Regions from separate parts of the Homo sapiens genome. Here regions 1, 3, 4 and 5 are each linked to region 2. The links are contacts of gene promoters, found by promoter capture Hi-C in blood cells and fetal thymus (Javierre and others, 2016). All regions are on one chromosome and are shown on one strand. Each heading gives the region's core, a stretch centred on a gene start or on the middle of the fragment in contact. The rest is flanking DNA. Distances are from core to core; before and after follow the strand shown. Region 1 has its middle 85 kb from the start of MREG. Region 2 holds the start of IKZF2 (IKAROS family zinc finger 2). Region 3 has its middle 2.5 kb from the start of LINC02862. Region 4 has its middle 10 kb from the start of MREG. Region 5 overlaps MREG (melanoregulin).

Region 1 (5,415 bases), core at 1,026-3,525, 2.8 Mb before region 2:
TAACGAAGTTCTGTCTATTTTTCCTCATTTAGTGATTGATTTAGAGGGTTTTTATTTATTCATTTTTTGGTGAATTTCAGAGGTTGTCTTTTTCTTGGAGAACATTTGGAAATTGGCAGAAAATGAAACAACGAAAGGGCATCGATGTCTTTTAAAGAAGAAAGGTCAACTCAGACTAAAGGCTTGTAAATAAGATCATTTTTGGATTTCTGAGTTTCTGCCCCAGAAAAAATTCAAGTAACTCTCAGGCCTACCTGTTTCTCTAGTTCTGTAGCATGCCAAATTGTGTTTGTCTTCGGCATGTATTTGAATATTATAATCTGAGATATGCCGGATAGCTGCCTCTACTGCATTCCAGGTTGCTAGTGTCATTATTGGTTTTCTACTTTCTAAAGCAACTTTTTACTTTGGCAAATTTTTAAAACAAAAGGGGAAAGACTAGTGAAGTGTGCTCCAAATACCCATTCCTTTGAAACCTACCAAATTTTAAATAATTATCGAATTAATTTTCCTCTTAGGCAGGGTGGTAAAGGGGATGCCTCTCTCAAAAGGCAGATTACTAAAAGTGATTTGGAAACACAGAACATTGCAAATAAAACCGGAGAGCCCTTGCTTCATTTTTCTGTCTTCAAAATTCCTTGATTCTTCCAGAACAAATATGACTCAGACTTGGAGAGAGCTTTATCTCTGTGCTTCAATAGCAAAAGTACTCAGAACATTTATCATATTGCATTGAAATACACGTTTACATTACTGTGTCCCTGTCCCCCAGAAAAGAAGACCTCTTTTAGGGTAGCACCAAATCCTGGTCAACTACAAATCCTGGTCGTCTTTGTATCCCTGTGACCTGATCTTTTCATAGTGATCGCGCCACTGCACTCCATCTTGGGCAACAGAGTGAGACCCTGTCTCAAACAAAAACAAAAACAAAAAGCAAATATTTATAGAAGGTGTTTGAATAAAAAGAAAAGATTGGATCCAGTTTCTAGTGGGTAAGGCAGATGAGAACAGAGTAGACAAACAAACAAGGTAACTACAATTTGCAAGCAGTGCTGTAACAGGAACACTGGATGAGATAAGGTGGAACTGAGTGGGGCCCCTCTGCACAGGGTGGTCAGGGGCCTCTTCTCTGAGAGAGGTCTGAGTTGGGACCCTTAAAGGATGAGTCACAGCCAGTCAGTCATGCAAAGATGTGAAGGAAGAGGGGCCCAGGCAGAGGGAACAGCAAGTGCAAAGGGCTGGAGGCGATAAAGGCTTTGGCATAGCTGAGGGCGAAAGGGAGCAGAGCATGTCTGGAGTAGCTTAGGGGGTCATGATGAGCAGAGCGCTGGAGGCACGAGGAAGGGTGGATCTTCAGTTCCTGCCTTGTGCGACCAGAGAAGGGTGTCTGCCTTGGAGAGCCAGGAGCTGACTTATGTTGTGAAACAATAACTTGCCATGCATTGCGAATGGATCAGAGGATGGCAAGAATGGGAACAAGATGTGTCAGAATTGAGAGAGGGTGATGGTTTGGACTAGGTTGGTGGCATTGAGGAGGAGCATAAATGGGTGAAGTGTGAGGTGTATTTTGGAGAGGTAATGGACAGGAGTTGCTGATGCATTTGAATTTGGGGGATGGTGCAGGAAGAGGAGAAATCAAGGATGACTCATAGCTTTCTAGCTGTGGCAGAGTGTGGGGCCATTTGCTGAGTTAAGGATGTCTGGGAGAAGAGGCTAGATCAGAACAGAATCAATTTTGGATCATTTTGATGAAACACCATGAGTTCCTCCCCAGACCCCCAACAATTGGAGAACTTATTTTGTTTCTAAGCACAATATTCTAAGTAGAATATTGTGGGGGTTTTTTTGGTAACAGCTTCATTGAGGTATAATTCACATACTATGCAATTCACCTATTTTAAGTATATAATTCAATGGTTTTCAGCATATCCACAGAGTTGCAATCAATTTTAGAATATTTTCATTACCCTAAAAGAAACTGTACCCTATTGCAGTCACACCTCCTTCATTCTTCACATCTACCCTCCTCATCCTAAACCCTAGGCAGCCACTAACGTAGTTTCTGTTTCTAGATTTATGTGTTGTGGACGTTTGTGTAAGTGGAACCTATGGTTATATGGGACCCTTGTTCCTGACTTCTTTCACTTAGTATAATGTCTTGAAGATTCAACCGTATTGTCGCATGAATCATAATTGTATTCCTTTGTATTGTGGAATAATTTCCTTCATTTTTATGAAATAATATTGCATACAATATTATAACATTTTATGCATCCATTTATCAGTTAATGGGCATTTGGGTTTGTCTTAGTCTGTTTGGCTGCCACAACACTCGCTTCAGCCTGAGTGGCTTAAACAACAGACGTTTATTTCTCACAGTTCTGGAGTCTGGAAGTCTGTGATCAAGCGGCTGGCTGATTCAGTGCTCAGTGAGGGAGCTCTTGCAGGACGCCATCTTTATGCTGGATCCTCCTGTGGCAGAGAGAGATGATCTCTCTCCTGTCTCTTCTTCTAACGGCATCAATTCCATTCGCAAAGGCTCCTCCTTCTCCCTAATTACCTCCCCAAAGCCCCACCTTCAAATATCATCACAATGGAGATTAAGACTTCAACATATGAATTTTGGAGACACTCCGTTCATAGTGAGGTGGTTTCCACTTTTGGGGTATTATGAGTAATGTTGCTAGGAATATTTGTGTGCAGATTTTTGTGTAGATATCCAGGAGTTTTGTTTCAACATGAGAATTTTGCAGTGTTTTTAGGACAGTGTTTGTAGGACAAAACAAGCTGCTGCCCTTGATTCCCTGCTCTCTTCTCACAGCTGACCATCCTGTGACCTTTGCCATTGAGTTTAGGAGACTCCATTCCACTGTAGACAAACCAGCCTGAACCCTCGTGTCTCCACCTCGTGTCTCTTTCTGTTCTGTATCCAGCTGCTACATATTTCGGGATGAAATGCCCTGCAGTTGGTCTGTTGGTCGGCATTTTATGTGGGAGTTGGCTCACATTGTTGATGTGTGAAGAATGGTATTGTTGGCTCACGAGAACGTGGGGTGACTTCCTGGAGGAAGTAGGACAGCCTAACATGTATCACGAGAGAGAAGCTATGAGGGCAAGAGAAGCTGCATCCACGAGGCAGTCCTGGGTGGGACCTCCAGCTCTCCACTTCCTAACTTGGGCAGATTGCTGAAACTTCCTGGCCTTCATCTGTAAAATGGCAATGCCAAGTTTCATGCGCGTCCGTGTGAAGAGACCACCAAACAGGCTTTGTGTGAGCAACATGGCTGTTTATTTCACCTGGGTGCAGGCAGGCTGAGTCCGAAAAGAGAGTCAGCGAAGGGAGATAAGGGTGGGGCCGTTTTATAGGATTTGGGTAGGTAAAGGAAAATTACAGTCAAAGGGGGTTTGTTCTCTGGCAGGCAGGAGTGGGGGTCACAAGGTGCTCAGTGGGGGTTCTTTTTGAGCCAGGATGAGCCAGGAAAAGGACTTTCACAAGGTAATGTCATCAGTTAAGGCAAGGACCGGCCATTTACACTTCTTTTGTGGTGGAATGTCATCAGTTAAGGTGAGGCAGGGCATATTCACTTCTTTTGTGATTCTTCAGTTACTTCAGGCCATCTGGGCGTATATACGTGCAAGTCACAGGGGATGCGATGGCTTGGCTTGGGCTCAGAGGCCTGACATTCCTGCCTTCTTATATTAATAAGAAAAATAAAACAAAATAGTGTTGAAGTGTTGGGGCGGCGAAAATTTTTGGGGGGTGGTATGGAGGGAGAATGGGCGATGTTTCTCAGGGCTGCTTCAAGCGGGATTAGGGGCGGCGTGGGAACCTAGAGTGGGAGAGATTAAGCTGAAGGCAGATCTTGTGGTAAGGGGTGATATTGTGGGGACGTTAGAAGAAACATTTGTTGTATAGAATGATTGGTGATGGCCTGGATATGGTTTTGTATGAATTGAAAAACTAAATGGAATAACAGAAGGAGAAAAACAGGTATAAAAGGTCTAAGAATTGGGACAACTCAGGATATCTGATTAGAGAGTGCTTAAGGAGATTCGGCAGAGTCCTGCCGGCAAAGATTATTTATTTACTTCAAGAGTTAAGAGTGGCAGTTTGGGGATAGCACCAGGAGATATCAGCTGTGATGGCTTGGAAAAACAGTGTAAACAAGAGCAGGGCATGTATGAGTAGTTGAGAACGGTGAATAGGAGTATGACTAGACAGAAAATAGTAGGGATGACAAGTTTTTTTTTTGGTGGGGGGCACAGTCTAAGTTGGTCTGGTGTCTGGAATGAGACTGGGGCCTAATAAAAAGGAGCGTCTATACAGGAGCTTAAATGGGCTGTACCGTGTAGCATTCCGAGGACAGGCCTGAATTCTGAGAAGGGAAAGTGGTAGAAGTATTGTCCAGTCCTTTTTAAGTTGGTGGCTGAGCTTGGTGAGGTGTGTTTTTAAAAGACCTTTAGTCCGTTCTACTTTTCTTGAAGACGGAGGACCGTAAGGGATATAAAGGTTTCACTGAATACTAAGAGCCTGAAAAACTGCTTGGCTGATTTGACTAATAAAGGCTGGTCTGTTATCAGACTGTATAGAGGTGGGAAGGCTAAACTGAGGAATTATGTCTGACAGAAGGGAAGAAATGACTGCAGTGGCCTTCTCAGACCCTGTAGGAAAGGCCTTTACTTATTCAGTGAAAGTGTCTATTTAGACTAAGAGGTATTTTAGTTTCCTGACTCGGGGCATGTTGAGTAAAGCTAATTTGCCAGTCCTGGGTGGGGCAAATCCTCGAGCTTGATGTGTAGGGAAGGGAGGGGGCCTGAATAATCCTTGAGGAGTAGTAGAATAGCAGATGGAACACTGAGAAGTTATTTCCTTGAGGATAGATTTCCACAATGGAAAGGAAATGAGAGGTTCTAAGAGGCGGGCTAGTGGCTTGTACTATAGCATAACCTGCCTTTGCTGGTGTGTGGCGATTAGGCCTGGTGGAACTGCCATCAATAAATCAAGTGTGATCAGGGTAAGGAACAGGAAAGAAGGAAATTTGGGGAAATGGGGTGAATGTCAGGTGGATCAGAGAGATACAGTCATGGGGGTCAGGTGTGGTATCAGGAATAATGTGGGAGGCCGGATTGAAGTCTGGGCGAGGAACAACGGTAATTGTGGGAGACTCAACGAAGAGTGAGTATAGCTGAAGGCGCCGGGAAGCAGAAAGTATATGTGTCAGGTGTGAGGAAGAAAATAGATTTTGGAAGTTATGAGAACTGTAGGGAGTGAGTTGAGCATAGTTTGTGATTTTGAGGGCCTCTAAAAGTATTAAAGCAGCGGCAGCTGCTGCACGCAGACATGAGGGCTAGGCTAAAACAGTAAGGTCAAGTTGTTTGCACAGAAAGGCTACAGGGTGTGGTCCTGGCTCTTGT
Region 2 (5,534 bases), core at 1-2,500:
ATCTGTGATATGGTTTCTCAGGAACACCGTTTGGCAGTCCTGATAATTTCATGTGTTTTCAAATTTCAGCCATCCAGACTACACAGTTCACTATTTTCAGCTCCTTTCATTTTCCTTTTCCCTTTAATTATAGAAGTCTCTATTCCCTCTTTTCGCAAATGTGGTCAGGAAAGATACTAAATGCTACTATTTGTAGAAAGAATATGCATTTGTTTTTCTCTTGACGGTTCACTTAAGTTCTTTCCAAATAAACAAGCTGTGGTTGATAGTGATAGGTAACACTTCAAGGGTAGCAACTTTTTGTACTCATCCGTTCCTTTGACTTTGGAAGACGTGGCACATGCCCCGGGGGAGAAAAAGCAAGTCAACACTTTAGTTTTTAAACTTGCACTGTTAAAGCACTTTCAAAATAGTAATAGTTGAGCTTCATCTCAGACATGAATGTCTTTCTCAGTCTATTCCCCAGGACCCCTCTTATCCCGCTTCAGGTCCCGGTCAATGCGGTGCGCTTTCCGAAATGGGGCCGCAGAGTTGCCGGCGGAGACCAGTAGGTGGGAGGCTCCACGCACACTCCCCGACTCGGCCGGGACGCGGCTCCCGGACTCCGCGCAGGGCGCCAAGATCGCCGCCCCGCTCCCTTCCCCCGGCCTCCCCACCAATCCCAGTTTGAAAGAAAACTTCACGCGGCCGAAATGAACGTCACCTCACCGCTCCAAGCCTCCAGCCGGCAGAAAACGTGAGATTTATTATGACACGGGGAGGGGAGATGGGGGTCGCCGTGGCACACTCGGAAGCGGGTTACCTGGCCCCCGTCGGGGGCGGGGTCCGCAGTCCGGGGACCAACGGGCTGGGGGCGACGCGGCCGGGCGCGCGGGTGGGCGCGAGGGAGTGCGCGCGTCGCGGAGCCTCCGGGGCAGCACTTGTCCTGTAATCGATTGCCGAGCGCGCCGAGCGGCTTAGCGCGCAGACACGCGCACACGCGCCCGCCAGCCCGCGCGCGCGCGCACACGCGCTCTCATACACACACGCACAGGCGCTCGGGCCCCGCACACACGCACGCGCGCGCACGCACGTCCGCTCGCCCGCGCCCGGGGCTCCGCTGCCCGCCGCCAGCCGCCCGCCGCCGCCGCCGCCGCAGCCGCCGCCAGCCCGCCCTCCGCCCGCGGGCGTCTGCGCGAGCCCGGCCGGCGGGGGAGATGTGCTCGGGCTCCACCGGATCGGTTTCTCGGGGTTTGACCAGCTGTCCCGGGCTAACCCTGCTCCTCGCTGAAGATGGAGGAAGTAAAAACAGGATTACCCTTAGCTACAGATCCACTGCCTTAGTTTCCACCACCAACTGCAGTGCACAAACACACGTTAGGCACAGGAAAGAAAGAAAGACAGAGGACACATTAACAGTAAACACAAACAAAAGGGTGATGGGATTATTTTACTGCATGCACTGCTGAGGTAAATCTCCGCTTGGCTTTTGCGTGGTGAAGAACAGCTCTTGTTTTGTCTTCTGATTCATAGATTATATATAAATATGTGTATGATTTGCAAAGGGGGGAGTGTTTTCAAAGTTAAGTGTAATTATATAGCATCTCGTTTTGCACTGTGATGTGATCAAATGACTTGTTGCTGTTAACCAGTAATAATAATAATAATATAGGTATTTTTCTCTGGGAGGGATGGATTGTGGTTCTGATTAGGGTAATGATTTTTGTAAAGGACGCTCAGGGAATCGGGTTGAAGATGATGTCCTCTGCCTTAATTTATCGTCCCCTCCTTGTAATCTGTTTCTGGGATGTTAATCGATTAATCAGTTCTCATCTCTATAGCTGTCATGAATTTGGACTTGTTTTGCTTTGTTTTAACTTGAATTCCAAGAAGAAAGATTGGGTAGGCTGGAATAAATTGAAGCTGTCCAGATAGAAGGTAATATCCAGATCCTGTTGGAATTAAAAAAAAAAAAAAACCAAAAACCCTGGTATGACACATGTAAACAGGCAGCAGTTAAATCACTTTGACAGGTTCTAGTATGGGCGAAAGAGATGGAATTAAGATTTATTTATTTTTTTTCTTTTTTGCCAAGGGCCAAAAACAGTCCTGTGAAGTTGGCCTGGGTTCCTAGCTGGGTTCTGCCTGACTGTCCCTCCCCTCTACCCGCCCCCCCCCCCTTTTCTTTCAGTTTTCTTGTCTTAGCTTTTGGTCGATTCTTAAGGAACCGGTGGATCAAGTTTTTTCTCTTGTTAATCGCATTGCTATAGCACTGACTGACCTCTCTCTCTCTCTTTTTTTTCCTCTTTCCTGAAAGTACGTGGTGCCATTCCTGAGTGACTTTTCCTACTAGACCATCCCTAAGGGACGAGGGGGAGGGGTGGAAGGAGGAGGAGGAGGAGGACGAGGAGGAGGAGGAGGAGGAGGGGGGTGTTCTTCTCTCTCATTTCTTGGTTTTGTTTATCAGCCGATCTGTTTGCTGGATTTGGGCTTGGAATGACCCACCTGTAAAGTGCTTTTCCTTCCTCCTCCCCTTGAACTCTGCAGGGGGCTTGGCTTGGAGGGGGCAAGGGAGGGAAAGAGAGAAGGGGGAAACACAAAAAACTTCTTTCTTTCTCCCTCCGTTTATCTTCAGCCCGACATTGTCACCTCCTCTTTGAGGGGTTAGAAGAAGCTGAGATCTCCCGACAGAGCTGGAAATGGTGATGAATCTTTTTTAATCAAAGGACAATTTCTTTTGTATGTACATTTCGTTTCTCTTTCTCCTTTTTCTTTTTCCTTCTTTCCTTCTCTGAGGGTTAATAACCATTTCATTGATGGGGCAGCCTTCTTTCGCTTCTCCCTGACGTTTCTTTCTTTTTAATATGTGTGTGTTAAATGTGTACATTTTTAAAGAGATAAGCTCATTTGTAAAATATCCGAAGAAACTGCTCCTCTTTTAAACTTTACGGATCTCTTTCTTTAAAGCCTTATGTAATCATAATTTAAAAGAATGTGATAACAGTACAGCAGGTTGAAATTTAAGTGCTATGTAGTGACTGAGTTGGGAATTTGATCTGATTATTCCATAAAGAAAGAAATAAAAGTTTTTTTTTGGGGGGGGGGTAAGGGAGTGTGGTGGTGAAGAAGGGGAGGGGAGGGAGAAGGGAAGTGGTTTTGGAGACAAGAAGTGAAGCTGCCTGTTTTCCAGTAAGTAATGGAGAAATTCCAGGAGCCAGGGCTAAATATACTTGGCGATCAATACAGAAATGGCTCATTGTGAATAATTTAGCTGCTGGTGCAGTGAGAGTTTTGAAACTAAAGGCAAAAAGGACCAAGGCCAAAGGGGGAAAAAAAAGTAAAAATCTTCTCAGGACTTGTCAATTCTTAAACTTTTTTCCCCACAGAATACAGTTAGATTATCGATCTTTTCATTATGTGAATCAAAGCTAGGGGGTGTCATCTCATACAGTTTACTTTTGTTTCTGAGAATTATGTTCTGTTGTGTGGCGTTTGTGCATGAGAATAATTGCCCAAAGTTTTTTTTTTTTTTAAATGATTCTCTCTAGCACAACCAAAGTTTATGAAATTTTCAAAATCAGACTGTATTAAGTAGGCTTGGCATTTGTGTCCAAGCATGGTCTGGCAGGAAATTAAGGTTACATTGAACAGGTGCTTACACAGAACTTGGGGTAGGTTAAAATGTCAATACAAGTCAGGGAGTTGGCCAACTGCTGTAGAAATCTTCAAGACACCGTTGGGCACTAAGTTTTTTGTTTTGTTTTGTTTTCTTATGTTTGTTTGTCCTCCCCCTCCCTATTAGAACATGATGAACCAACTTGCAACAATTGTGAATAGAGCTATCTGTATACTGGGGAAGTCCTCAAACTGCAGTGTGATTGTGGGAAGTAGTGAATGGTAAAACACTTAAATCCCAGTTAAAGCTGACACATTTGAGCTATACCCCCTATTTTTTCTTAAACCCAATAAATTTTGATTAAGAGAGTCATTCCCTTTTTGCTCTAGCCCATCTCACAGCACACTTATCTTTCCTATCCTATCTCCAGCAGGAATCAGATCATTTGCAGAAAGAGTTCAGTGACTTGCAAATGAGCACATACAGTACACTGTGTATGTTTCTGGGCACAGGTGGCAGCAGCAACATGGACTAACTGCTTGGAGCTTCAAATAAGTTAAGAATTTAATGGCAGATACTGAAAGGAATCATTGTATTAAGGGTATAATCTTTTGTTTTGCAGCATTGCACTTTGACTATGGAAACAGAGGCTATTGATGGCTATATAACGTGTAAGTATTAGTTTTCATTGATTTGTTATTGGTAATAAAGTTGCCTTTGTATTACCTGTGTTTTAATTCCTGGATTATGAAACTTTATTGAGAATTCTGTACTCTTTTTTCTCTCTGTTCACAATTTCACCTTTGAATGAGTTTGAGAAAATGACAGCACTGAAGTGAAATAAGAAGGAAATATAGAAACATACTAAGTTAAGTAGTGTACTTAAATCAATAGTAGCTAGCAGTTCAACACTTTCCTACTTTTTATAATTTACTTTGTTGTAAGTTGAGAATAGGCCAGGTTTCATATATGTCTATTAATATGGTGTGTACTAAATATTTACTTCTCTGTAACCTAATTTTTCAGACATATTATGTGAAAGAGAATTAGCTTTCCTAACTTGACATTTCTTTAGCTACCTGTCTTTTCCATCCTCTCTCTGATAGCCAGCATTTTGGAAAATGCTCATTATAAATTCTGTGTGCTTAACAATTAAATTAGATGTTAAAAGAAAAGTTATTTCTTTCAACTGAAAGATACTTTAGAAATCAACAACTTATGTATTGAGATAATAAAGTTTTGTTAATTTTTTTTATTGTGGGTTGATTATGGCTTCTCATCATTTCATTCAACTGTATATTTCTAAATGATATTTCCTTATAGTTTCTAAGGGAAAAATGTATTACCTTACAGTTTGAAGGCTATGCATGCCATTGCGTGTATAAAGCAAAGTTAGTAATTACATCTTATGTGACAATGAATAGAAACCAAAAGATTATATTTTGTGAAAGCAGGTGACAATGAGCTTTCACCCGAAAGGGAGCACTCCAATATGGCAATTGACCTCACCTCAAGCACACCCAATGGACAGCATGCCTCACCAAGTCACATGACAAGCAGTAAGTCTTCATTTTATGATTTTTTTTTGTGTGTGTGTGTCTCTCCAGCAACAGACTTTAATTTGTTAGGTCTGTGGGGTCCTCTCACATTGTGGTATAGCTACTGTTATAGATTTTGCTAAAGAAAGAACAACACAGATTTATTCCTGTTCATTCTAGTATTATAAAACATGAGCCTGCTTACTAGTCTGAACTATCCCAAGGTGGCATTTGGGAGCTGGTGCTTACCTGTATCAGGTAAGAAAGGTTAGAATTTGCTGGTTGTTGTTTTGACTTGCCAGGTTTATGACTGGATTTTTTGTTGTTGTTGGGTAAAAAATGTGGAAACGTCACTTCCAAAGGACTCTTCACAGTTAAAAAATGAAATAATTTTATGTTGC
Region 3 (4,833 bases), core at 2,028-4,527, 2.1 Mb before region 2:
AAATGTCAAGGACCTCCGTGAACAGCATAACCAGCTGAACCAGAGGGAAATTTCCCCAAATGTTTTACTCATATATAGGTGAAATAGCTAGTAGTTCCCGCACTGTGTATGATCATCAGAATCATAACAATGCAGTTTTAAAAATATGTTAGAACCAACTATAACTGCTGACTCTATTATTGTTCAAACTATTTCTAAGCGTTTTCTCCCCTCCTCATTGGTTGATTCCAACACCACAGGGAATGGAGGCTGCCCACAGCCAGAGTCTTTAGGGAAAGGATAGAGTCAGACTGCTCGGTCTTTCCTATCAGCAGAAGGCCACACTGGCTGCTGTGCTGTTCTGGGCATAGTCAGCATGATGATTGCTTTGAGAGATTTAGAATTGGCATTTCTTTAGCTGTTGCGCCTTCTTTCACACCAGCTGAACAACAGTTCTTAAAATGTGGCCCAGAGACTCCTACAACCATTTCAGGAGGTCTGCAAGGTAAAAGATCTTTTCATAGTAGTACTAATGTTATTTGCTTTTTTCACTCCCATTCTTTCATGAATGGGGTTTACAGTGGCTCCATAACGTGTAATGATATCATTGTTCCGATGCTTAATGGAATGTGTGCTTCTGTGCTCTTCGTGTATTCTTGTAATACCAATCTTAATTTCAAATATGATAAATATTGACAGATAGAGCCTGCGTAAACTACAGCCGTTCGGAGTCTGTAATATTTTTTAAGAGTATAAAGGGGTTTCGAGACCAAAAAGTTTGAAAATCACTGCTGTAGAAGAATAAATTTAGTTAATTGTGTCTACAATGAAATGTAGAGGCAATTTGGCCTAGGAGATTTTTCTTTTTATAGCGTCCAAAATGCTATAGTAGTGGGGCCATGCCGTGGCAAGGAAACATTCTCCTCTGGAGTGCCCAGAGGAAACACAGCCTTGCTCAAGACGCTGAAGGACTTCTGACCTTCAGAAATGTAATAAATCTGTGTTGTTTTAAGCCTTGAAGCTTTTGGTAATTTGTTACAGCCACAATAGGAGCTGAATATAGGCCAGGTGCGGTGGCTCACACCTGTAATCCCAGCACTTTGGGAGACCGAGGCAGGCAGATCACCTGAGGTCACGAGTTCGAGACCAGCCCGGCCAACATGGTAAAACCCTGTTTCTACTAAGTATAAAATTAAAAAAAAGCCAGGAGTGGTGGCGGACACCTGTAATCCCAGCTACTTGGGGGGCTGAGGCAGGAGAATCCCTTGAACCAGGCAGGCAGAGGTTGCAATGAGCCAAGACCATGCCATTGCACTCCAGCCTGGGCAACAGAGTGAGACTCCACCTCAAAAAAAAAAAAAAAATAGGATACAAATACAGATCTGTTTCAGAGAAAACAAAGACTTGTTGAGCACCTGCTAGGCACCAGGCCATGAGCAAAATTACATAGTCAGGGCTTACAAACACTAGGATTCAAATTCAGGTTCACCTGCATTCAGAGACCAAATCCTTTCCATGAATCTTTTTTTTTCTTTTTTTTTTTTGTCCCCATTCCAAAAGAAAAAATGTTCTATGGTAAAAGTGGTGCTATAAACTTTTGATTTTCTCTAAGGACAATTGTAGAATTTCAGTGCATGATCCATATTGTCAGAGATCATGAATATTGCTTAGGTCCTGATGGCACCTTGATCGTATGCCCTTACTTGACTACAATCTAGTCGATATGGATAGCACTGTGGGTAACTTTACAGGCACTCAGTGTGTTCCCCTGAGCTAAAGAAAGGAGGTATTTCCCCCACGTTACTCCCTGTATTCCTAACTATGAATCAACTCTCAGGTTAACTGCAGCATACTCATTTACTTCTGAAAATGAAACATGAGAATTGTTAAATGTCAAGCTCTGCCTCATGAGAAGGAAATTCTAAAGTGAATTCTTATTCAATATGGGTAAGAGAAGATTAATTGCTTTTTAAAAATTTGGTGATGAAACATGCTGGTTTTCTAGTCTAAAGGAGAGTATTTACTTATATCAATATTCAACACCAGTTGATTTGTAGGAATATTTTTAAGGCAAGATTGGTTTGAAAGCAATTAGGATGGATAGAATTTGCTTTGGAAGGTAGCTTAAATGTAAGCAAGGCATCAAAATAGCTTAAATATCCAAATATTCAGAGATGTAATTCAGAGGTTTCAGGAACATCATGTATTTGGAAAAGCCAAGTTGATAGTTCCACGCCATGAGATGGTGATTCATACAAGATGTCTCCATCTTCATTTTGCCTATTATCTTTCCCCCAGTTCTACACTGTTCCAAGGGTATATGCCAGTCATTTCTGAGTTGATATTAGGCCGGGACTCAAGATCACCAAATCCCTAAAAAACCACTTACAGTCACAACCATGTCTACTAGATTCCCCATAAGAGACACAATCCATGCCTTGATGGTGAGGCCTGGCCTGTGCACACTGTTTATTACTGTTTGGGTTTGGTGCCAAAATCCTTTTTGGAATTCCTAGACCTGGCGAATTGTGCTGGACTACATAGGGCTGAAAACATTCCTATGTGTCTTTTGTCAGAGGCCTAAATGAAGTTCCTCCAGATCTCACTCTAGTGGCAAAAAAAAAAAAAAAAAAAAAAGAGAGAGAGAGAAATCCAAAGAAAAATAGAATATAGGTGGGATGGTTCCCTACGCCCAAAACCTAGACACTCTACCCCAGGCCAGGCCTTCCTGTGGCAATAGGAAGTGGGGTGTGGGTGGTTGGTGAGAAAAGGCCGTTGGAGGAGTTCATTACTAGGTGGAAAGCAGGCCTGTCTTAATTGCTAGAGCGGCAGCTGGCGGAGACATCATTTTAATAAGACAAGTCCAAAATGACAGAGTCTCTAAAATCCCTAATCCAACTGGAGAGCATAGTTAGAGAATAAGCTTCTGCCTCCTTTTCTTACCATGACATTAAAAGTTCCACGCTCTGCCTCAACACTGTGGCCCAATAAAGATCCTCAGAAATTAATGTTGCTTCTCCTTAGGTGTCAAGGACAGGGAGGACTGGAGCTTTGATCTGACCCCATAGGCCAGCAGTGTATATTACCCCACAGTTAGCTAATGTTATGGTCATAATTTACCTCCTCAGGCCTGCCTGGGATCTGTCAGTTTTATCAATGGGGAGGTGAAACAGAAGCTGATCCTCTTCCCTACCAGCCTTCCAGATTGCCTGGGCTGCTTCATTCCTCCAGCATTCCATTTAAATCAAGGCAGGCACAAGACCTGCTGCTTTGCATTGTGATGGGATGCACCTGACAGGTAGCATCTGAGCACTCTGGGATGCTATGCAGCAGTGCAGCTACAAGCATGAATCAATTAAGTGGCGATTAGGTTCAGACTCTCAAGCAATGACATAGTCGGCTTCACACTGACTTTGCTATACATAAAATCCCCAGAAAGAATAATACCTTATCCAAACTTTCATTATATCTGGTAGTAGAATGAATATGGATCGATAATAAATTTTGTTCCAATATAACATTAGTTTCAGAAGAATTTTCTCCTTCTTTCCCTATCAAGAAATCAAATTATGGCCATAAAAATAAAGGCTTATCTACTTGAGGACTCTGTGAAGAGAACAATGGTTTGCTTTTTAATATTAACATTTTAGCTTGTATTTGAAAATAAGCTTGGGTGATTTTATACAAGAGAGAATTAAATATGTTTCTCAGAACATGAACTTACATTTGGATGTTTTGGAAAAATAACCTTTTTTACATGACAATGGAATTAGATCTTATAATAATTTCAGGTTTTTGAATGAAACCTTTTAATTTTGGGGTATATACCAACTTTATAGATAAGAATGGAAAATAAAATAATGAAAATTCATTATACATCTGCCACCAAGCTTTATTAAAATAATATGCCGTATATGCTTCAATAGTTTCTGAATAAATGATGCAGTATAAGCATAACTGAGGCCACCTTCATTTTTCCCCATCTCATTACCCTTTCTTGCTCTGAAGGGTAACAACTCTCATGAATTCAATGTTCACTATTCCATAGTTTGCATATTTTTACTATATATACATAGAAACTATACAGTATTATTTTGCATACAGTCATTCTGTACATGTCCTTCTCCAAATTGATTTTTAAACTCACCATTTCAGACAGGATTTTTAACCTATGGAACCTGGGATGTGTAGAGGTATATAAAACCCCAAGCCTTTAATTTAGGATGCAAGGCCTTCAGGTGTTACATGAACCCCTGAAATTATAGGTACATGCACTTTTTTTTGAGATGGAGTCTCACTTTGTTGCCCAGGCTGGAGTGCAGTGGTGCGATCTCAGCTCACTGCAACCTCTGCCTCCTGGGTTCAAGCGATTCTCCTGCCTCAGCCTCCTGAGTAGGTGGGATTACAGGCATGCACCACTATGCCCGGCTAATTTTTGTATTTTTTAGTAGAGACGGGGTTTCGCCATGTTGGTCAGGCTGGTCTCAAACTCCTCACCTCGTGCCTCAGCCTCCCAAAGTGCTGAGATTACAGGTGGCACATTTTTTTTTTTTTCTGAGAAGAAAGTCCACAGCTTTTCTAAAATTCTCAAGTCCGTCTTTGACCATAAAAGAAAAGAACCACGAGATGGAATCTTCTTTCTTCAAAATGTTGAGATTCCATTAATGTACAAAGCTGTATTTCTAACCATGATGTATGATTTTTCTTTATTTTATTCTGCGTGTTTTTTTCTAAGTCTCTAGCATTATAGAAAATTGATTATTCTATTGGTTGGCTGATTTTTTTTTTTTTTTCCTCTTGGCTGGCTGGTAGAATGGGAGGTGGTCAGCACGTTTTGAAGGCCGGGAATGACTT
Region 4 (5,139 bases), core at 760-3,259, 2.9 Mb before region 2:
AATGAATGATCCAGTGGCATTCAGCACATTCACAATGTTGTGTAATCATCATCTTTGTCCAGTTTCAAAACGTTTTCATCATCCCAGAAAGAAACTTTATATACATTAAGCAGTTGTTCTTCATATTCTGTCCCCCACCCCTGTCCCCAGCAGCCATCAGCTGGAGTTATGTCTCTCTATGGATATTTAATGTATATTGAATCATATAATGTGTGACCTTTTGTGTCTGGCTTTTTTCACTTATCATAATGTTTTTGAGGGTCATCCACATTGTAGCATATGTCAGTACTTCTAGGGAAGAGTTTTCATCATGTTTATGTGGGTGAGACTGCTTCTACTTGTGGACAATTTCCTGAACCTTATTTCTAGAATGTTCCCTCCAAAGGGCTGAAGGCTTAAGTGTTCATGCCTGGAGGACTTCATCTTATGTTAAAGAAATCTGATAAAAGAATTCCTGGCATTTTGAGAGGAAGGAAATCCTGAGCTTGTGTGACTGCCCACACGGATGGATTTCGGTGCAGGGATTGCCGAGCAGTGGCTGCTGAGATTCACGGGCTCTAGATCCTCCCTCCGGAAGGAAGGAGCTGCTGGAAGTGTTGCCCGACACGGCCCTAGCTGTCAGCCCATTTCTGGGACAGCCTCTGCTGAAGAGGGCTGCCTCGGCTAAGGCCATGTTCCTTTCCCAGGTAGGCCTCATCCAAAGACTGATTGTCATGGAGGGGACAGAAAGGGCCAGTTCTCGCTTACTGACTGACTCAGAGCAGCTCTGAATTTTCATTCTGTCTTTAGAACTCCCCATAGGGTTGACTGAGGCCCAATCAGTTCCTTTGTGCCCTTCTTTTCCACAGGTGTTGGTTCTATGCACACTCATAATAAATCTCCTGTATGCTAAATTCCATCTCAGAGTTAGCTTTCCTGGGAAGCTAATTGGCAGTACCAGATTTTCTGCCAGTTAGAAGGAAGGAAGGTCTGCACCTCCTCTAAGTTGAGAAGCTTTGCTTTTGAGCTACTGGGCTGTCTGTGGGTAGTAGAGGTCTTCTTTCTTAGTTTTACAATTTTTGTCCTGTCGAGATCTTTAAATCAACCTCTTCTGGGTATCAGTGGGGTGGCAGCTAAGGATTTTGCCTTTATTAATGAGTTTTGCATTACTACAAAACCATTCTCCTATGTTGCCATAGAGAAAACATAAACATTAAAATGAGATGTGCATTTTCATGCATTCTCATGCTTTTCAGGGATGTCACAGTGCCAGGAATCATGAAAGGGATACAAACTGTTATGCCAGTTCATCTTTATAATACATTTTCTTTCTTTCTTCCTTTCCTTTCCTTTTCCTTTCCTTTTCCTTTTCCTTTTTCCTTTCCTTTCCTTTCCTTTCCCTTCCTTTCCCTTCCTTTCCGTTCCTTTTTTTTTTCCTTTCCCTTCCTTTCCCTTCCTTTTTTTTTTTTGAGACAGAGTCTTGCTCCGTCGCCCAGGCTGGAGTGCAATGGCGTGATCTCGGCTTACTGCAACTTCTGCCTCCCTGGTTCAAGCAATTCTTCTGCCTCGGCCTCCCAAGTAGTTGGGATTACAGGGGTGAGCCACCATGCCCAGCTGATTTTTTTTTCTTTTGAATTTTTAGTAGAGATGGGGTTTCACCATGTTGGCCAACCTGGTCTTGAACTCCTAACCTCAGGTGATCCACCCGCCTCGGCCTCCCAAAATGCTGGGATTATAGGCATGAGCCACCACACCCAGCCAATATATTTTCTATAGGCAAGAAACCGTATTTGTTTAACAACAATTGGACAGGTTCTGCTCTCCCTTGGACTGAGGAGTACTTTGATAAGTCATTTGGCTTAGGGACAAAAGAGAGGGCACGGGGCGTCCTTTTTTTTTTTTGAGACTGAGTCTCACTCTGTCACCCAGGTTGGAGTGCAGTGGTGTGATCTATGCCTGGCTAATTTTTGTATTTTTAGTTGAGATGGGATTTTGCCATGTTGACCAGGCTGGTCTTGAACTTCTGACTTCAGGTGATCTGCCTGCCTCAGTCTCCCAAAGTGCTGGGATTACAAGTCTGAGCTACCGTGCCTGGCCAGCACCTGGTCTTCTTATGGGGTACATAGGAAAGATGTGAGTGATAGGGAGGGGTGGCCCAGTTTAAATTCCCTACCTGAAGTGACAAGACCTTTCTAAATTGAAAAGAGCTCAAGGAGAGAAGACCCTGAAAGGCTCGGCATGGCAAGGGAGAGTGGAGCTTAGAGGCATCCAGTTTCAGCTCCACAAAGTGATTCAAAGGGGTACTCATGGCATATACTTGAAAGGGCCCTCTACTTTGGTCAAGCAAAATATTTAATATTAAGCATTTATCAGTTGGAGAGGCTGGCCAGGTGTGGTGGCTCACACCTGTAATCCCAGCACTTTGGCAGGCCAAGATGGGCAGATCACTTCAGGTCAGGAGTTTGAGACCAGCCTGGCCAACATGGTGAAACCGTGTCTCTACTAAATGTATAAAAATTAACTGGGCATGGTCGTGGGTGCCTGTAATCCCAGCTACTCAGGAGGCTGGGGCAGGAGAATCGCTTCAACCCTGGAGGCAGAGGTTGCAGTGAGACAAGGTTGTGCCACTGCACTCCAGCCTGGGCAACAGAGTGAGACTCTAACACACACACACACTCAGAGAAATAAAATGTAAAAACAAGAAGTTTTAATGCTTCATTTAAATTGCTTCCCTTATATTATTTAAGAAATATATCTAGTGGCCTATACACTTTCCATGGTTTTCAGGCTAATAAATCAAATACCAATGCTTAATAAGATGAAATGAAATAGTAATACAATAATCAAAGCTATTTGGCACATGGTAGCCAAGAAAAGAGAGGATTTACTTATTGCTCAATTTAGCAGTGCCCTAACAGGTTTAGAGTTTAGTTTACAGCTAGTTTAAATCTCCCACTTAAATATTACTATGTCCCTTTAAGCTCTAGGTTCATACAGGCATTGTGGCTACAGCAGCTTTCCATCTGTTGAGTAAAAGAAAGCTTTAGAACCTATTTGAGATCCTTAGCCCCATCTCCAAAGAGACTGCAGTGAATTTACAATTGGATGCCAGGAGGTGGCAGCACAGAGGATTATAGGAAGGTTTGTATATAACCTTTGTGGGGAAGTCTAAGGTTTGTATATAACCTTTGTCGGGGAGGTCCACCTGCTGTCTTTACTTTGGTAGAACTTGTCCGGGAGAGTTGCAGGGTTCTGGCCTGTCGATGTATCTCTTGAGTGTTGTGGAGAAAGAAACCATATAAAGGAATGGTGAACTAAAAACACGAATTTAAAGGCATAAATTCGGTTATCTTTAACACTCAGATGGGTAGGATCTGGGCTTAAAGTTGAGGCAAGCCTCCGGTCGCCTTTCATAGCAAATGTGAATGATGCTCAGGTTTTCTCCTACTACAGTTTTTGATGCATATTTTCTCCTATTTTGCAACTTCGAGTCACCTTGCATATAGCAAGTGCTTAATAAATGCTTCTTAGAAACTCTGCTTCTGCTTCTTAGAGTTTAATTGAATTAGGAAGCACACCGATGATAGCTGGGTCTAGGCTTATGTTTAATTTTGGTTAGGTATAATATGGAGAGACTTTGGAGAACACAGAAAACTTGGAATAGTAGGGGGCTTGTCTTCCGGAGGTAGGAAGAGGTTGAATTCCAAATCTCATCTCTGGGGCTGAGAATTGAGACTGTTCTGGGCATCTGGAAAGTGTTTGTTATGGCAGGAGAATTAGCTGTGACAACAGAGTTCAATATAGGAGTATAGTTAGAGATGGAGATATAATTAAAGTGGGAATATTGTTAGACGTAGCAGTATAATTAACTATGGGAGACTAGAGATGACAACATAGTTAGCTATAAGAATCTACTTAGAGATTGCAGCATAGTTAATCATGGGAAATATGGGGGTGAGGTAGGGAAGAGCACATGGTAGGAACTGAAGGATGGGTGACTCGAGGCATAGATGAATACAGAACATTTGAGTTCCATAATTTTCTATTTTTGGCTCTGGATAGTACTCTGAGGATGAGTACTGTTATTATTATTATTTTTTGAGACAGAGTTTTGCTCTTGTCACCCAGGCTGGAACACAGTGGCACTATCTCAGCTCACTGCAACCTCCACCTCCCAAGTTCAAGTGATTCTCCTGTCTCAGCCTCCCAAGTAGTTGGGATTACAGGTGCCAGCCAGCCACCACACCCAGCTAATTTTTCTAATTTTTGTCTTTTTAGCAGAGACGGAGTTTCACCATGTTGGCCAGGCTGGCCTTGAACTCCTGACCTCAGGTGATCCACCTGCCTCAGCCTCCCAATGTGTTGGGAGTATAGGCCTGAGGCACCACAGCCGGCCAAGTACTGTTTGTTTTTCATCTTTGCATTCCACAAGAGGTTGAGCTCAGTGCCATGCTTACACAGTTGATAATAAATACTTGTTGAGTTGAATCCTTTCAGATGGTCACAGTTGGCAATGGAAGGTGATGGGGTCGGATCTGACTAAAGTATGAATACTTAACAATAATTGCAGCTAACGTTTACGCAGTGCTTCCCATTTCCCATGAAATTGTACTAAGGGCTTTCTGTGTTATTTCACCCAATCCTGACAGCAGCCACAGGGAAGCACTGTTATGCCAAAGACCATACTCTAAACAACCCTGCCAGTGGTTCATAAATTTGACGTGCCTCAGAATTCCCAAGCCTCTGGAAAAGGGGTGACTAGGGTGAGAGGGGAGTGAGGGGCCTATGGAACAACATTAAAGGAGGCACTCACATTTGGGGTTGTACAGTTGCAGGGTGGGCCCCAAAAGCGAGTGTCTCTTTATATGTTGCACTCTAAGCTCCTCATTTGTCTCATTTTAGTCCCTTCCCTTCTCATCCTAGTCCCTATAAAAGGCTTGGGAGCCTTTTAAAAATGCAGATTTAGCCGGGTACAGTGGCTCACGCCTGTAATCCCAGCACTTTGGGAGGCCGAGGCGGGTGGATAACCCCAAAATATTAGCTGGGTGTGGTTGTGCATGCCTGTGGTCCCAGCTACTCGGGAGGCTGAGATTGGAGAATTGCTTGAGCCCAGGAGGTGGAGGTTGCAATGAGCCGAGATTGCATCACTGCACTCCAACC
Region 5 (5,363 bases), core at 1-2,500, 2.8 Mb before region 2:
CTAATATTTTGAAAAAAGTTCTTTGTTTATTTATTTAACAGTGGCACCCCACCTTTCCTATGCCCCAAAGAAAGCTTGCAATTACTGAATAAGAACAAAGCAGGAGCCAGGTCTGGGTCTGGAGAGGCAGAGGGGCAGAGTGGAGGAGGCTGCTTCGTAGCCACGAGCAGGTCAGATCCTGCTGGGGAGGGCCCAGGAGCTCGCAGAGAATACCACTGCTGGGAGGCATTGCCGGTCCAGGGGCACAGCGGTTGGTTCTCTTTCCTGATTTACATCATCCCCTGAATATCAGTGGCTAGGCAGAGTTGGAGGCTTGTTAGGGGAATACTGCTTCTAATTAGGGCAGGGCTAGATATGGTGAGAACCCAGGAGGCACTCACCTTCTGGAGACATGGGCACTTCTAAACAGGCTGGGGTTGACCTTCCTATAGAGCTTTACTTGGGCTTGTGGATTAAGGACGAGAGGCTGGTGTTTTATGCTGGCTGAAGTCATGCATGTATGTGTGTGGATGGATGTGATAAGCGAGAAAAAGAGAGGAAAGACAGAGATGCAGAGACAGCTAGAGAGAGGAGAGGAGAAATAAAGAGGAAAAGAAGTGATAGTGAGAGAGAGCAAGAGACAGGAAAGAGAGACAGAGACAGCTAGAGAGAGGAGGGACAGAGAGACAGAGAGAGAGGTTGTGAGAGGGTTGGGAATTGGCCAGGGAGGCAGCTGAGATCGTCATTTTAAAATAGGAAAATAAATTGTGGCTTAGTAAAGTAAAAGGTGGCTAGATTATTCATGGTCTAACGTTATTTTTACTGATTTTTCAGGTACATACTGGCTCCTTTCTAAAGCTCCTGCTTTAGGGAAATTTTTAAAAGGCGGTAACCATGAGTTATGTCTGGGATTTCCTTCAGCAGATTGGGATCACAGCACAGTTTGTTGCGTTCAACAAGTACTTTTAAGGCAACTGCTGTGTCCTAGGACCCTGCTAGGTGATGTGGGGAAGAAATGTAGAAATGTAGAAGAAATACTGGATACAACCCCTGCCCTAGAGGAACTGACCCACCTGTTGAGGAGACAAGACATAGAAATGAAACACATCTGGGGGAAGATGGAAGACCAATGCCAGGAAAAGTACCAGGGTTTCATTGCTCCAGAGGTGCAGTTATTGTGATGTTGGAAGCCATGGTTGCAGCTCTTGGTGGAAGCTCTGTGCCAGGTCTGGGTGACTCAAGGAGAGTGCATCCTGGGGACAAGCCACAGGGGAACCTGCTGGTTTGTACAGGGAGCATCCACACAGGTAGTTATTATCTGAGCTACTTCACTGTGAGTGCATCCCTGTCACAGCATTTGGATGTTGAGTTATATAACAGTGGCTCCTCCGAGATCCCCACCCAGGAACTCATGTTGGGGGGACTGTCAGCTGGCTGTCTGGCCCAGAAGAAGTCAAGCACTGCAGTATTCTTGTCCCTATCTGCAAAGTAGGCCAATGCCACCCATCCTTCTTACCTTAGATGCTTGTGTAACGTGAGGGGTGGAATGCAGGAGCCCTTGGCTCAAGCCCTGAATATATTATGCAGTGGTTGCATATCATTGGCTGCAGAAAGAAATTGGAGTCAGCATCTTTCATGTTATCGACACTTCTCCGGTGTCCACCTGCTGTTTGTCCTGCCTGATCTCTCTTTCTTGACTCACCTATTCTCTTCCTTCTCCAAATCCCGTAAGACCATTCTTCTGATTCTCTGACCTGCTTCTGTGATGCCATGAAATGCTGCGTATTGCTCCCACATCTAGATCTCTACCCTGTCCTTGCTCCTAAACCCAGATCCCTGACATCTCCCTGAACATCCTGCAGGCTCATCATGTCAGCCGTGGCTTCTGCCCCATGTGTTACAGTTGAAGGCGTCACCTTCGCTGGTACCTCTGTGCCTCCCACCATGGGCTGCTGTCACCCGCTCTCTGATGCTGCTGGAATCGGTCCTCATTTCCACTCTCACTGCTATTTCCCTCGCTCTCAACCTCGCTTACTTTTATCTCAATCATAATTTCAGAATGTTCAAAATTATGTATTTGTTTAGCAGTAGAACCCCATTTTTCCTGTACCTCAAACAATCTTCCTTCTAGCTCTAACAAAGACTATTTGAATGGAGAAGCTGCTCTGGTTGTGGTTGGTTCATGGGCTTCTTTCTATCTCTTCCAGAGAAGCCCTGCCCATCTCTTTCTCTACTTCTGCCCCACTGTGGTCCCAAGGCCCCCTGACACCAGGACCTCAAAGAGCATGGCTTGAAAATTACACCTACTCCCGTGTGACAGTTGATTGTGACACCCTCCTAAGCCATCTTCTTGTTCTTCCTTCACCCAGAGTTATTTCTCTAAAATCCAGACCTGACAGGGCTCAAAATCCTGTTGATAATGTTGCAGTTCACAGAATGAAGCTTGGACACCAGCACTACTTTTAGTCTGACCCCACGTTACCTTTTCTTCTTCATGTCTCTCCATTTTCCTTGCTCCGCACACCACGTGCTGCAGTCATGCAGGAATACTTCGATTCCCCAACCCCGTGGGCTCCTGAAGCCTCCATATACTGCTTTGGCTTGAGCTGATCCTTCTACAAGGAATAACTCTGCCCTTGTTTCTCTTCCTGGTGGAAGCCTGTTCAGTCCTCAGGTCTGGTTAGTTCTTGAACTTCCTTCTCATCATACATAACGTATCACTTCTTCCTGTTTGTTCCTACAACAATCTGTGTAGACTTTTTTTAAAAAAATGTACTGATCTCATTGCATTATAGTTATGTTAAGGGCAGAGACAATGTCCTATTTATCTTCATGTCCCCATGGCACCCAGCCCGGTACTCAGTATACAGCAGGCATTTATTCCACATTTGTTGAATAAACAAACAATGGAATGAATGAAATGAATGAATTTGACATGCTCATAAAAGTTCACATGGGCAGGGCCCAAAGGCATCATTTTCCTCCTCTTTCACTGGTTCATCATTCTTAGGAAGAGTCAGGCTGTGGGGCTGCCTGTGTTCTAGCTTTTGTGGTATTAATCAGTAAAAACAGCGTGGTTCTGAGCATAGTGTGCCTGAGCTGTGTCTGATTTCCCATCATCTGCACCTTTCCCCATAGGGCCAGGTACTTTGTTCAGTCCCAGACCCTAAACTTCTGACCTGCAGCCACAAGGATTTCAGGAGCACTGTTCAATATTCAGTCTCTAAACCCCATGCTGATTCAGGTAGCTGGTCTCCTGCTAGCCTTGGTTCCAAGATTCTGTCCCACCTTTTGCCCTAGTTTTTGTAAGTGGGCCCTGGTTGTTGTCCCAATTATTATTATTATTATTATTATTATTTTTTTTTTTTTTTGTGAGATGGAGTTTTGCTCTTGTCGCCCAGACTGGAGTACAATGGCGCGATCTCAGCTCACTGCAACCTCTGCCTCCCCGGTTCAAGCGATTTTCCTGCCTCAGCCTCCCGAGTAGCTGGGATTACAGGCATGTATCACCACACCTGGCTAATTTTTGTATTTTTAGTAGAGATGGGGTTTTGCCATGTTGGCCATGCTGGTCTTGAACTCCTGACTTCAGGTGATCCACCTGCCTCAGCCTCCCAAAGTGTTGGGATCACAGGCGTGAGCCACCGTGCCCGGCCCTGTCTTCCAAAATTTGAGGCGGTGATTGGCAGTCTGACCTGTACCTCATCACTCTAGGGCTGGAGCCCCTCCCTAGCTGGGTGGGTTCCTGCTGCTGAACCCCAATCTGGGGACTGGCACTCTGCTTCCTGTTGCAAAATTTCCTTAGTGCCAACTTCTGAGCATCCCATATTGACATCTTAACATTTCCTGTTTCCTTCCACCCCAGGCCTTTGAAGATGCTGTTTCCTCTGCCTGCAACTCTGTTCTTGTTTTTCCACTTAAAGCTCCAGCACCTCTTCTTCATGACACCTACCTGACGCCTGCCTTCATAAGGATTTTCTCTTAGCAGCTTGCATATGTTCTCATGGCCTCCTGAGCTCCCACTTAATGGCACTTATCACAATTTTTATTTTATAGTCATGTGATCATTCATTAATGTGTTTCCCATGCTAGACTCTAGTGAGGTCCAAGGACAGGGATGATGTCTGTTTTGCTCACAATTTTATTGAGCCCTGTGATTAGCATGTAGTCAGTGCTTTATACATATTACTAGATGAAGTGAATAGCTTCTGTATGACCCTACCAGTCCTTCCCACAGAAGTCAACTGGGGGTTACAGAAGTTAACTGGGGCTGTGTGCAGGCATGCCCCAGATGTGATGCTCTGTCACTAATCTTCTCTGTAAGTCCACACCCAGGTACCACCTTATAAGGCATAAATCATAAAACAAATGTACAGAATGGGACTACTGAAATTCTCACTCAACATTCTGCCTTGTTTATTGAAAGTCTTTGGGTACGCATGTTTATTACTTAATTTTCCTGGCATAAGGAATTTGATAGCTATTATATATCATTGTACTCCAAGTTTACTATGCTTCCTTGAACTCAGAGCCAGTCAAACATTCATCCCTTCATGTTAATTGTTTTCTTCTTTTAATCACACAAGAATTCTATTCCTGGCTGGGCGCGGTGGCTCACACCTATAATCCCAGCACTTCGGGAGGCCAAGGTGGACAGATCACTTGAGGCCAAGAGTTCAAGACCAGCCTGACCAACATGGCAAAACCCTGTCTTTATGAAAAATAAAAGAATTATCCGGGCGTGGTGGCAGGCGCCTGTAATCCCAGGTACTCGGTAGGCTGAGGCAGGAGAATCACTTGAACCTGAGAGGTGGAGGCTGTAGTGAGCTGAGGTCGTGCCACTGCACTCCAGCCTGGGTGATGCTGGGTGATGAAGCGAGACTCTGTCTCAAAAAAAAAAAGAATTGAATTTCCTTTGTTGTCTTAGCTTCTGGGGTACTCAGTGCTGAATTTCATATTTAACTGTAGTAATTACCTCTGCTCAGGTACGTCTGTTCTCTGTTCTTTTTAAAGTGATTTATTTATATTTTTGGTTTGTTTTTACTGCTCTGTTGTGTTATGCTTAATTATTAAAGACAATTCAGACCTTTTTGACAATATATTTATATATTACATAGTATAAGTTTTAATTGATATTGTATGTTGCATGCATATGACATATAACATTTTATGTATATTATAAAACCCCAATCTTTCCTTTTTTTATACAACAGTGATAACAATCCATATTCCTCATTTGGAGCAACTCTGGTGAGGGATGATGAGAAGAATTTATGGAGTATGCCCCATGATGTGTCCCACACAGAGGCAGACGACGACAGAACCCTGTACAATTTGATAGTCATTCGTAATCAGCAGGCCAAAGACTCAGAGGTGAGCACCTT

Evidence for each region. The method cuts DNA at HindIII sites, captures the fragments that hold promoters and counts their contacts. A CHiCAGO score of 5 or more calls a contact.
Region 1: a fragment that was not itself captured here is called in contact with the fragment with the promoter of IKZF2 in region 2 in 1 of 17 cell types (total B cells); the score reaches 5.3 in total B cells.
Region 3: a contact is called between a fragment that was not itself captured here and the fragment with the promoter of IKZF2 in region 2, in 1 of 17 cell types (total B cells). The highest score is 6.4, in total B cells.
Region 4: a contact is called between a fragment that was not itself captured here and the fragment with the promoter of IKZF2 in region 2, in 1 of 17 cell types (fetal thymus). The highest score is 12.4, in fetal thymus.
Region 5: a contact is called between a fragment that was not itself captured here and the fragment with the promoter of IKZF2 in region 2, in 1 of 17 cell types (total B cells). The highest score is 6.7, in total B cells.

Annotation. Positions count from the first base shown.
Region 1 is chr2:215,925,942-215,931,356 of GRCh38, reverse strand. No RefSeq gene overlaps it. Among named protein-coding and RNA genes, the nearest start is that of MREG, 85 kb to the left of the region's middle. RefSeq lists an enhancer at 3,220-3,746. The HindIII fragment of the contact is 6,678 bases long and covers 1-5,415 here.
Region 2 is chr2:213,147,328-213,152,861 of GRCh38, reverse strand. It overlaps IKZF2 (IKAROS family zinc finger 2), which reads left to right and starts at 1,250. Exons shown (of 9, transcript NM_001387220.1): 1 at 1,250-1,449; 2 at 2,615-2,718; 3 at 4,218-4,266; 4 at 5,050-5,154. The coding sequence starts at 4,233. RefSeq lists silencers at 660-1,019, 1,100-1,159 and enhancers at 3,526-3,625, 5,327-5,376. The HindIII fragment of the contact is 7,158 bases long and covers 1-5,534 here.
Region 3 is chr2:215,270,066-215,274,898 of GRCh38, reverse strand. No RefSeq gene overlaps it. Among named protein-coding and RNA genes, the nearest start is that of LINC02862, 2.5 kb to the left of the region's middle. RefSeq lists an enhancer at 2,986-3,534. The HindIII fragment of the contact is 745 bases long and covers 2,905-3,649 here.
Region 4 is chr2:216,021,192-216,026,330 of GRCh38, reverse strand. It overlaps a transcript of MREG not described here. Among named protein-coding and RNA genes, the nearest start is that of MREG, 10 kb to the right of the region's middle. The HindIII fragment of the contact is 2,027 bases long and covers 996-3,022 here.
Region 5 is chr2:215,996,295-216,001,657 of GRCh38, reverse strand. It overlaps MREG (melanoregulin), which reads left to right. Exons shown (of 5, transcript NM_018000.3): 2 at 5,193-5,352. Among named protein-coding and RNA genes, the nearest start is that of MREG, 15 kb to the left of the region's middle. The HindIII fragment of the contact is 2,347 bases long and covers 77-2,423 here.